4 separate regions of the Homo sapiens genome follow, and regions 2, 3 and 4 are each linked to region 1. Evidence: promoter capture Hi-C in 16 types of primary human blood cells and fetal thymus (Javierre and others, 2016). All regions are on one chromosome and are shown on one strand. Each heading gives the region's core, a stretch centred on a gene start or on the middle of the fragment in contact. The rest is flanking DNA. Distances are from core to core; before and after follow the strand shown. Region 1 holds the start of TMCC3 (transmembrane and coiled-coil domain family 3). Region 2 overlaps PLXNC1 (plexin C1). Region 3 overlaps PLXNC1 (plexin C1). Region 4 overlaps PLXNC1 (plexin C1).

Region 1 (2,649 bases), core at 101-2,600:
AACCAGAGACTCATTGCTTCACTTCTGGGGCAATCGATTACTACTTCAAATTATGAGTGAAGACCAAAATCCTGCACAAAGGGCCGCGACACAACCCCGTCACTATTGCTACTATTTCCATCCAGTTGGTCTCTCGATCTTGGAAGTGGCAGGCCAGAATCTGAGCCCGGCTCTCCCTCCGTGAACTTTACACAGAGGCTGACACCCAAATCCCCAGTTCTCGGACAAGCGAGTAAGTAGTTGGCGGAGCAAAGAACAACTCCAGGTGCCTCCTGCCAGAACAGATGCCAGCGTGGAGGAGGTGCTTTGTTAAATGGCACTTCAATCAGCCCTGGGGAGAACGGGTTACAGAGCCTCACATCCAGCCTCGACGATTCAACAGCCCGGGAGGGCAAAGGTATTCACCGGGGAGGGCGAAGGCTTCCTCTCCCAGGACAGACCCGCGCTTGGGCTGCGGCCTCCGTCTTTATTTTGAAGCCCTACAGGGCTCGTCTCTGCAGCAGGCTCAGAATGAGCTATTTTCGCCCACAGCCAAAATCAGCAACAGCAAATTACACTGCAAACAATGGCGAGGGCGCCTGCTCGGCTCGGCTCGAAACTCCGGAGAGGCAGCGCAAAGATTCTGACTTTTCACTTGGGCAGAGCCCGTCCGCCGCCTCCCCGCGCTCCGGCTGCGCACCGCGCTCGGGTTCCGGCCACACGCCCCGAGGACAGGGAGACAGGGCGGCCGCCGGGACGTTCGGCGGGGAGGGCACCGTCACACCCAGGGCGAGACCCCGGAGACCTGGAGACGCGGGGCCGCGGGTGGCCGGGTGGCGGGATTCCCTCGCGGAGCGGCGGGCGCTCCCTGGCGGGGAGGACAGCAGAGCGCGGGCCGTCGGGGAACCGGGCGTCCCGCATAGCGCGCGGGGACCTGGGCGCCGTGAGGGGCAGGCGGACCTGGGATCCCAGAACCGCAGCCTGGGCTCCGACGCCCCCGACGCCCACCCTTTTAGCTCGGAGGATCGGGGAGGCACGGACCTCCGGCGGCAGCGGAGGGCGGCGGCGAAACGCCGGGGGCGCGTGGGTTAGCACTGAGCCGCCGCCCCAGCCCGCCTCGCCCCCGGGCCCGCGCGCACCCGCCGCCCCCCAGCCCGCTGCGCTCACCCGGCTCTTGCAGCGGTGGTGCCGGCCGGGGTACGAGTAGGTCCGGTCCACGGTGAGCGCCGTGTCGCTGCCCGGCATCTCCGCGCTCCGGCCGCGAACTTTCCCGTCTTCTGGGGCTGCCGCGCCGCGAGCCACCGGCTGTGCTCGGGATCACCCTGGGAGCCGCGGGCGAGGGGGCGGCGCGGCTGCTGCAGCTGTTGCCTCTGGTGCCAACACCCGCGCGGCCGCCCTGCGCCGCCGCCGCCGCGGGGTGGGGGAGGCGGGGCAGGAGGCGAGAGTCTCCTCCCCCTTCCCTTCTCCCCGCCTCTCCCGCGCCCCGCAGCCGCCTGGACCCCCCACCCACCCCCGACCCGGGAGGCAATGTCTTCGCCTCCCTCCCTGGCTGAAAGTTGATTCCATCCCCTCCCACACAGCCCTCTTTCTCCCCAAAAGATAAGCGACATCCACACTACACTATCTGTTGACTTATTTTATATATAAAAGGTGACTGTTACTGCAAGAAGTTGACACTTGCCTTAAATGCCTCTTTTTATGTTATTCTCCATTCAACAGGCACTTACTGGGCAGCTGCCATGTACCAGACGCTGGACTAGAGACCAGAGATTTAAAGTAAAAAAATGAAATAAAATAAAAACTCCCCCCGACCATGATTGCCCTGAGCATAGAGCATACTTCCACTTAAACTAAGATCCTACTGTGTTGTGTATTTTAATTTTGCATATCTGGCTCACCTTTATGTTTCTTTCTTTTTTTTTTTTTTTTGAGACTGAGTCTCGCTCTGTCACCCAGGCTGGAGTGCAGTGGCGCAATCTCGGCTCACTGCAAGCTCCGCCTCCCGGGTTCACGCCATTCTCCTGCCTCAGCCTCCCAAGTAGCTGGGACTACAGGCGCCTGCCACCACACCCAGCTAAATTTTTTTGTATTTTTAGTAGAGACGGGATTTCACCATGTTAGCCAGGATGGTCTCGATCTCCCGACCTCGTGATCCACCTGCCCTAGCCTCCCAAAGTGCTGGGATTACAGGCGTGAGCCACTGTGCCCAGCTTACCTTTATGTTTTAAGCTACTTGGAAGTCAGGATATCTTTTCATTTTAGTATTCCCCATTCCCAGTCATCAGTCCCTGCCCACAAGGAATTTGGAGTTTAGAAGAGGAAGGACCATTGGTGAACAATTTAAATATCAGTAACCCCAAACAAAATTCAAAACACCTGTTCTGGCTCTGTAGGGTGTACAGTGGGAGACTGGGCTGAAATATTTAAAGTGCAGCTGTTCCAGAGAGGACCTGGAGCCCAGTGTGACCAGTCCAGGGGGAGGGAAGGATTTCCCTCATAGGGTTCAAAGGGGACGGTAGAGCAGGCTGAAGAAAACTTTGGAGCCCCTAAAATCAGAGGTACATTTGGGAAAACCTCAAGTCATCAGTTTTGGGGAGTGTCCTCAGGAACAGGAAGACATGATGGAAAAGAAGGCAGAGACCATGCAGAATCTTCGTTCAAGGGTAAGAA
Region 2 (2,649 bases), core at 56-2,555, 490 kb before region 1:
ACAAGCTTCACCACCTTGCATGCTTCCCACGGCTGTGCTGCACACCAGTGATGTTTTCTGGTCTAGAGGCTGCCCAGCTGTGTCCCTAAGCACACTTTGAACCTCTCCTTTTGGTCATTTGAGTCCCCAGTGTAAATTCTTCCTTCAGACGATCAGAGAGCTGCCATAACTTAGTCAGATCCCGGTCAACACTGTATACACTAGAATGGAGAAAAGCAACCCGAGCCTTCCTAGCTAATAAAATCACTGTCCGACTTGGGCAAATAGTTGTCCTTTCCATCTCCTTAGCTGAATAAAAGTAATCTAATTATTTTCAAACACATGATTTCATCTGGACCTCACAACAACACTGAGAGGCAGGGCATGTGGTATTATTAGGTCCATTTTACAGATACAGTCACTGAGGTTCAGGAGACTTAACTTGCTGGAATCAAGCAGTCTATAAGGCACAGAGCAGGGGCCAGAACTTGGGTGCAGGGCTCCTTCAGGGGTTTCCTAATGGCAAGTGGGCCCCTTGGGAAGTAACAGAAAATGATGAAACTGCTTCAAAACAAAGGGATCCCAAAGGGAACAGAATATAAAATTAACTGCCCAAGAAAGGCATTTTGTCATGTACAAGAAATTGATAGGTACCCAGTTGGTATTTCCTCCCACCTGGTAAGGTAAAATCAACATACAGGAATCCTTTTAGCACCTTGGGGGTAAAACACTTGACTCTTGCTTGGTGCTCAACATTGGAGGCCCCAGTTTTGTGCCCATTCCCTCCCGATGATGCCGCAAAAGCTGGAGCATGGCTGTGAGCACCCTGCCTCGATGAGCCGGGCCATCTTTCACATGGTAGGGGCAGGGCCAAGCTGTGGCTCAGCTCTAGAGGGTGCCTTTCACACCCTGGAATGCATGACTGGCACCCCCTGCAGTTGTGCAGGGCACAATGGGAGAGTATTTATTGTCCATGAAAAATCATATGAAGCAGCTGCAAAGAAGTCTAATTGTTTTCCTCATGATATGCCCATGACTCCCTGCACACACACACACACACACACACACACACACACACACACACACACGTACACACACAAACACACACACACCTCAGGAGCTTTGGTCCCAGTTTGCTATATCAGGCCCAAAGCTCTTTCTCTCTTTCAGCCCAAACATCGCTTGAGCCAAGGTAGCTTTCTCCTCCAACTGAGAAAAGTTTCCCTCTTAGAGCCGGCAAACGTGTAGGCGTGACGTTATGCTTAGACACGGCAGGAAGGAGAAGCAGAGTGACAACTCTGAGGGAACCAAGAAAGCCCAAAGGGGAGACAAGGTTTAGAGCGAAATCAAGATCGGATTTTGTCATGAAAGGCAGAACTGGCAAAAGCATCATTACAAGGCATTAACCTTGTTACACACAGACGAACAAGCAGAGGCTGGGATTCAGAAATAAATTACACATAATAAACTAGACAGAATAGGCTGAGAGCAACATTAGCGATTATGCCCTAAGGGGAGAGAAGGGCAAGATAGAAAATAGGCCCGAAAAAAAGAGAGAAAGAATAATCTCTGGACACAGGGGGCTGACTGCACTGTTTCCCCCTTCTTCTGCCTGGCTCCCTGGGTATTAACCTCACTTTTGTGAGGACGTTTCTCCGGAGCCTGTCTTTCTTTTGTTTTCATTTGCTGCAATAAGCATAAGAAAGCCATTCAAAGGGTTCCTTTTCCCATTCACAGGGACCTGTCCATTTCTGTGTGTTTCCAGCACAAAAGAATCCATTTCCATTCAGCCAGAGCAGCCCCTAGAGTTTTCATGAGGTCCAAGCCTCCTCTCCTGTTTTCTTCCAGGCTCGCTGTTGTAATAGGCTGCAAAATCCTGACTGTGGCCAGGGTCCTCCAGGCTGGTGAGAGGAACAAGCATTTGTCCACGTCCTGGTCCCTGCAGCTGGGGAAGAACTGCAGTTTAGTGTCCGCTCCAACAAGTTGTGATTGTCATTTCTTAAACAGTGACTTCCTTTTGGTTCCAAGTAGCAGAAAACGCAACCAACAGTGGCTTAAACCATGACAACTATTGTTAACTTAGTAAAATGTTTAAAAGTTGAAGGTCTGCGGCTCAGTGGTGTCTCCAGGAACATAGAATCTCTTTTCTTTCCCCTGCACCAATCTTAGCATGTTGCTTTGTATCCTTCATCTTGAATCTCATGGAAACAGAACGGTTGCCACGAGTCTATGCATGATGAGATCACACAACTGTATTCCAGAGGAGGAAGTGAGGGAAGAGGGCAAACGGGTTCTCCTCAAGAGGCTTCTGTTATCAATGAGGAAACTTATTCCCAGAAATCCTTCCAGTGGACTTCTCACATCTCCCTGCCCAGGACTGGGCCACATGACCACCCTCAGCTCTAAGGGTTAGGAAAGCCAGTGTCTGGCAATAGGGAATGGAGCTGCCATTTGGCTTGGCCCAACGATAGCTTCCACCAGGCTTGGGTTCATTGCTGTCTGAACAAAATTAGGGTTCTTCTTGGCAAAGAGAAAATAACTGCCATGGGTGTGGCAGTAACTTGTGTTTTTAAATGAAGTAATGATAGCAAGCATGGGTTATGTGTTGCTATGTGCCAAACCTGTTCTAAGCTTTACTGAGGCTTACGCACAAACTCACCCAGTCCTCAT
Region 3 (2,649 bases), core at 95-2,594, 440 kb before region 1:
GTGTTCTCCCCCAAATCCTTGCTAACCGCTTCATCCTACAGTCTCTGCCTTACCTTCTGTCTTCTCTGTTTCTGGGGTCCCCATCCCTGTGTCCTCATCCTGGCCCAGCTCCACCCTGCAACCACTGGTTGAGGTCCCAGGAAGCCAGGAGGAACTATGAATGTCCTCTATTAAGTGGTGGTTAGGATCTATAGGAAGGCATGAAGCCAGGGGGCCAAGTTTGTGGGCTCTGAAATCAGACTTCTGCCACTTGGCAGCTATGTGGCCTTGATATGTTACTGTACTTCTCTGAGCTTCTGTTTCATCCGTAAAGAGTGAGGTTGTTGTGAGAACTAACTGCAAACACTCCCATCAGTGCCTGGCACACAGTAATGTTTCCTCCATGCCAGTCTGTGGTGGGGTAATTATTCAGGGATATTATGGGTTACACATATTTCTATGAACCCAGGAAGCAAACCCACTGTATATAAAGACTTTCTAAGTTTTCAAACAGTGAACTTAGAAACAAGTGTCTGGGACCTTCCTGTTTATGACTTGGGGCCGGAGTAGGTTTGGAACTTTTTTTTTTTTTAAATCTGTTGGGGGTGAGGGAGGGGGCGGTTACATACTTATATAGTTGAATGCCAATATCAAACTCTAGTATTATCTCGAATACATTAAGCTCTACAGCAGATTTTATAGCAAACTAACAAGAACAGCTTTCTTAAATAGTTTCATTGACTGAATTGTTTCTACATACAGTGTTTTTCACATAAGGGAAGTCTTTTTAAATTAACTTTTTGGTTTGGGGGATTTTTTTTTTTTTCCTTCAGGCAATCTTTTCTTTGCATTTGGGCAGGTTCTGTATTCTAATTTGCAAATAGGCTTGTGTCTGCCTGCAGGCTTTATCATGAAAGTATTAGCTCTAAGTGGAAATAAGGACTAGAAAAATAAAATACTGACTGGGAGTCTGAGGACTTTGGGATAGATCCTCAGTAGAGGATGGAGCAAAAGTAATAGTAAGTCAAGAAAGCAAATATATCTCTACCAGTTTCCCTAGAATATGTCCATTCTTATCCAAATCCAATTTTCCTCCTATTCTTGGCCTGAAGAAATTGAAATGAAGCCATTAAGATATCAGCCTATCTGAGAGTGCATCACTGAAGAATCAGCCTCACTAAGAGTCCTGTGTGACAATGAGATTTTAATTTAATTAGGGCAGTGGCTCAAGTGTTTATGCACTTGACCGTTGCTCTTGTTGATACGCAGGAATTAGAGTGATAGCTTTCAAAAGGAATTATTTCAGAGTAACTAGCTTTGTTTACTAAAATATGGGAGCTATAAGATCTGCTCTGTAAGAAATGTAAATGTATGAGTAATATGCTGTCATGAAGATTTTATAATCTGCAGTATTTGAGAAGTAATAAGATACTGTTGTTGGCTGGCCATCTGGTTATACATACTTGGTGTCATGGTTTGCTTTTTATTTTTTCATTTTTTATTTGTACTGGTGAGAGGCAAAGAATAGGAGTTCAGAGGTGGTGGGTTGTTTTTTTATATATATATAAAAACAAGGAATTTATGTTTAGTTGCTTAACATGGTTAGATTTTGTTTTTGCCTTATGCAGAATAAAAAATGAAAGGTTCATTTTATACTTTCTTTTCCCTTTTTTTTTCAAAAAGTAAAATGGAAACCTCACCCCCAATTTGTCCCCAGATTTAAACTTTTTGCTTGTTTTAAAAATAGTCTCTTTGGCATGAGGAGGAGTCAGACATGAATTAAAACTCTAGAAAGAAAAATCAGCAACAGAAAAGACCTATAGAGATTTCATATTTCATCCTTTCATTCAAAAATATTTATTGAAACCCTAGTATTTGCATATCATGCTGCCAGACACTGAGGGATTTGCTAAAGAAATATTAAAGACCTTCTCCCTTCTTTGAGGAGCTTAGAGCTTACTTGGGGAGAACTGAGATAGACTTATGAAATAGTTAAGTTGTAATTCGAGGCAGCATATGATTAAATACCGAAATATGTACTTCTGACAAGAAATGCTATAGGAGTTCAGAAAAGGGAGTGATAACTCAGTGGCACTACTGTTTTCTGCCTACAAATTGGCAAATTGTAGCACTATTTGTATGAAATATTTTACACTTGTTTTTTTGGCAGCCTTAGGCTTTGACTCCCAGGCAGCATTAAGAGCCAACAAAAATATTTGTACTCCAGTCTCTTCGGAATTGGCTTATTTTTTTTTTTCTTATAGGCAGAGGAAGTGCCTTACACAAACCGGAGTGCCCATGAGAGGCAGGGAGTTTTTGACAGTCATGATCTATTTCAGATACAACCGAAAGAACCAGCTTCGTCATTCTGTTTTTCAATCCAGCAGTGCTTGTCTCTCCGTTGCAAACTCTCTCTGACATTGACAGGCGGTTTAATTTGAACTTAATGTCTTTGACGGATGAGCTAGCCATCAAGGGTCAGATAAATTTATGGCTTTGGAGAATTGCCGATGAAAATCCCCATGGTTATAATGTTGGAGAAGAAACTGACACAGATGTAGTGGGAGGTGGAACACAGATGTGCTTATTGGGAGCAGGGTTCCCCAAATGTCAGAAGCCGGTGACATGCTAAAGGTATTGTGCTTGGGGATGACGTTTAGTGAAACTCAC
Region 4 (2,649 bases), core at 81-2,580, 390 kb before region 1:
TCTGAGCTATCTGAGATCCCCATTAAGAATTTAAAAGCAATAAAATAACGGAGATTTTTGACTATCAACATGAATGCTGTGTGGGCTTTTACAGTTAATGATTGCCCTTGAGTGCTGAATAATCTGTGGCCTGAAAAAAGAAATGTTCTTATCTTCTAAATTTGGTAATCAAGAACAAGATAGAGTAATGAATGTAAAGGAACACTGTTGCAAGTTGAGTGTTTCCAAAAAAAAAAAAAAAAAAAAGATCCCAGGAACAATGCTACCTTATTTTAGGAGAAGAGAGATAGTTGCAAAGGAGGCAAACTGATTTAACTCAGTGTTGTGTATAATCTTGAAAAACAACTGGGAAAGTCATAAAAATTGAAGTCAGAAGTTGTTTAAAGGAGAGAACCCAGGAAAAAACATGCATAAATTTGTCAGAACCCTTTCAAGAAGACCTAAGTCAAAACTGATTTTATAATAATTAAGAAAAGATAGAACAGGGAAACAGATCGTAAGAAGACAATGCCACTTAAATGCATTCCAGGCTGCAGATAAGTCCTGGTATTAATTAGGCTCTTTATGGATTGATCAGAAGCCGAATCCTCTAGGCCTGGAGGTTGGGGGCTGTGGGGGTAGGATTTGGGTGTTCAGCACCTACAAAAAAGCAACAGGCAAAATCCAGAGGAGATTGTAGGTTCTCAAAGGAGGCCAGGGTTCTTTGCTCTGCCTGTCGGTTTTGGCTTTTAAAGCCTTGCTTTTTATTTTATTGACTCTTCTTTGCTTTGCATAAAGTAGGAGAAGAAATAAGGGTAGGCAGAGGATCTAAGCTGAAGAAAAGGGAAATTTGAATGAAAGGAGGAAGCAGCCTTAAAACTCAGAGAGCCACGGGTCCAGGCGCGGTGGCTCAAGCCTGTAATCCCAGCACTTTGGGAGGCCGAGGCGGGTGGATCACTTGAGGTCAGGAGTTAGGGACCAGCCTGGCCAACATGGTGAAACCCCGTCTGTACTAAAAATACACAATTAGCCAGGCATGGTGGCGTGCACCTGTAATCCCAGCTACTCGGGAGGCTGAGGCAGAGAATTGCTTGAACCCGAGATCAAGACCATCCTGGCTAACACAGTGAAACCCCGTCTCTACTAAAAATACAAAAAAATTAGCCAGGCATGGTGGCGGGCGCCTGTAGTCCCAGCTACTCGGGAGGCTGAGGCAGGAGAATGGTGTGAACCTGGGAGGCGGAGCTTGCAGTGAGCCGAGATAGCGCCACACTGCACTCCAGCCTGGGCGACAGAGCGAGACTCTGTCTCAAAAAAAATAATAAATAAATAAAAAGAATTGCTTGAACCTGGGAGGCGGAGGTTGCAGTGAGCCGAGATCACGCCACTGCACTCCAGCCTGGGCGACAGAGGGAGATTCCGTCTCAAAAAAAAATAAAGAATTGCTTGAACCCGGGAGGCAGAGGTTGCCGTGAGCCGAGATCGCGCCACTGCACTCCTGCCCGGGCGACAGAGCAAGACTCCGTCTCAAAAAAACAAAACAAACAAAAAAACACACAGAGAGAACCAGGGCGGCACTTCCGTATTTACGATTAAGAATCAACCTGTTTCTCCTGTCTATTTACATGAAGTTGGTTCAGCAGAAAAATATTAAGAACCAGAAAATGCAAACCTAGGGTCTGGGGGTTTTTTTGGTTTGTTTTTTTGGGGCTTTTTTGCTTTTTACTAGGGGAGGATATGGCCAAAATAGTTTCAGGTCTTTTGCTTGGGCTTGCAGATTTGAAACTATGAAGCAAAATTCTCTACAGAAGAAATTTACTTCACAAGATATAAAATTAGCTCAAAGTTTCTATTATTATCAAAAAAGAAGAAAAACTTGAATGTTTTGAGTTTAGAGTCTCATTCTGTGGACTTAAAGTATTGCTTAACATACTTTTAAAGTTTAACCATTGATTTTTAATAAGATTGATGATACACTATAAACCCTTTTTATATTCCAGAGCTACCTAGCATTTAGAAACCAGTGGGGTGATAGCATTGTGGTCTAGTTTGCTATAAATTAGGAATAAAACCAGTAATGATAACTGACACAGGGCACTTACTCTGCACCCATTTTATTTTCACACTAAACCTCTGAGGTGGGAACCATTACTGTCCCCATTTCAGAGATGAGGCAAGTCAGACACAGAGAGGTTAGGTAACACATCCCACGTCATGTGACCAGTATGTGATTAAAACCAGGACTGGAACCCAAGTAGTTTGGTCCAGATTCTATGCTTTTAACTACCCCCTGTCTTTCAATATCATTGTGTATTGAAACAGTAGATGCTACTTAGGTAAGACTTGTAAAACTTAACAACGTAATTTAGTCTTTATCTTTAGAAGGTAAATTGCTTGAAGAGGGGTCTGATATTTGCATAATCTTCATCAATGACCCCTTCTTTAACTCTTAAATCACTTCTTCTAAAACGTGGGATGATACCTTCATCTACCAAACCTGGAACTAATGCCATGATAATTATTATTCTTAGAGGCTTTCGGAATTCAGTGGCGTTTCTTGAAAGCTGAATAATTATTTATTATGTATTAGAGAATACGCAGCCACCATAAACCCAGGGGCGCTTCAGATTAGCAAATAGTGTCTCTACTTTATTAAAACGGACTTGGGTA

Evidence for each region. Contacts are between HindIII fragments. The CHiCAGO score rates a contact against its expected background, and 5 or more counts as called.
Region 2: a contact is called between a fragment that was not itself captured here and the fragment with the promoter of TMCC3 in region 1, in 1 of 17 cell types (neutrophils). The highest score is 6.5, in neutrophils.
Region 3: a contact is called between a fragment that was not itself captured here and the fragment with the promoter of TMCC3 in region 1, in 1 of 17 cell types (neutrophils). The highest score is 8.1, in neutrophils.
Region 4: a contact is called between a fragment that was not itself captured here and the fragment with the promoter of TMCC3 in region 1, in 1 of 17 cell types (neutrophils). The highest score is 6.8, in neutrophils.

Annotation. Positions count from the first base shown.
Region 1 is chr12:94,649,207-94,651,855 of GRCh38, forward strand. It overlaps TMCC3 (transmembrane and coiled-coil domain family 3), which reads right to left and starts at 1,351. Exons shown (of 4, transcript NM_020698.4): 1 at 1,147-1,351. The coding sequence starts at 1,224. It overlaps LOC105369914 (a long non-coding RNA gene), which reads left to right. Exons shown (of 2, transcript XR_945225.4): 1 at 1-397; 2 at 1,699-1,796. RefSeq lists silencers at 595-724, 815-1,284, 1,305-1,474 and an enhancer at 803-1,518. The HindIII fragment of the contact is 10,368 bases long and covers 1-2,649 here.
Region 2 is chr12:94,163,640-94,166,288 of GRCh38, forward strand. All of the region lies in intron 1 of PLXNC1 (plexin C1), which reads left to right. Among named protein-coding and RNA genes, the nearest start is that of PLXNC1-AS1, 11 kb to the right of the region's middle. The HindIII fragment of the contact is 2,605 bases long and covers 4-2,608 here.
Region 3 is chr12:94,205,699-94,208,347 of GRCh38, forward strand. All of the region lies in intron 4 of PLXNC1 (plexin C1), which reads left to right. Among named protein-coding and RNA genes, the nearest start is that of PLXNC1-AS1, 31 kb to the left of the region's middle. RefSeq lists an enhancer at 2,031-2,100. The HindIII fragment of the contact is 7,278 bases long and covers 1-2,649 here.
Region 4 is chr12:94,256,619-94,259,267 of GRCh38, forward strand. The region is part of intron 17 of PLXNC1 (plexin C1); the gene reads left to right. Among named protein-coding and RNA genes, the nearest start is that of PLXNC1-AS1, 81 kb to the left of the region's middle. The HindIII fragment of the contact is 3,447 bases long and covers 1-2,649 here.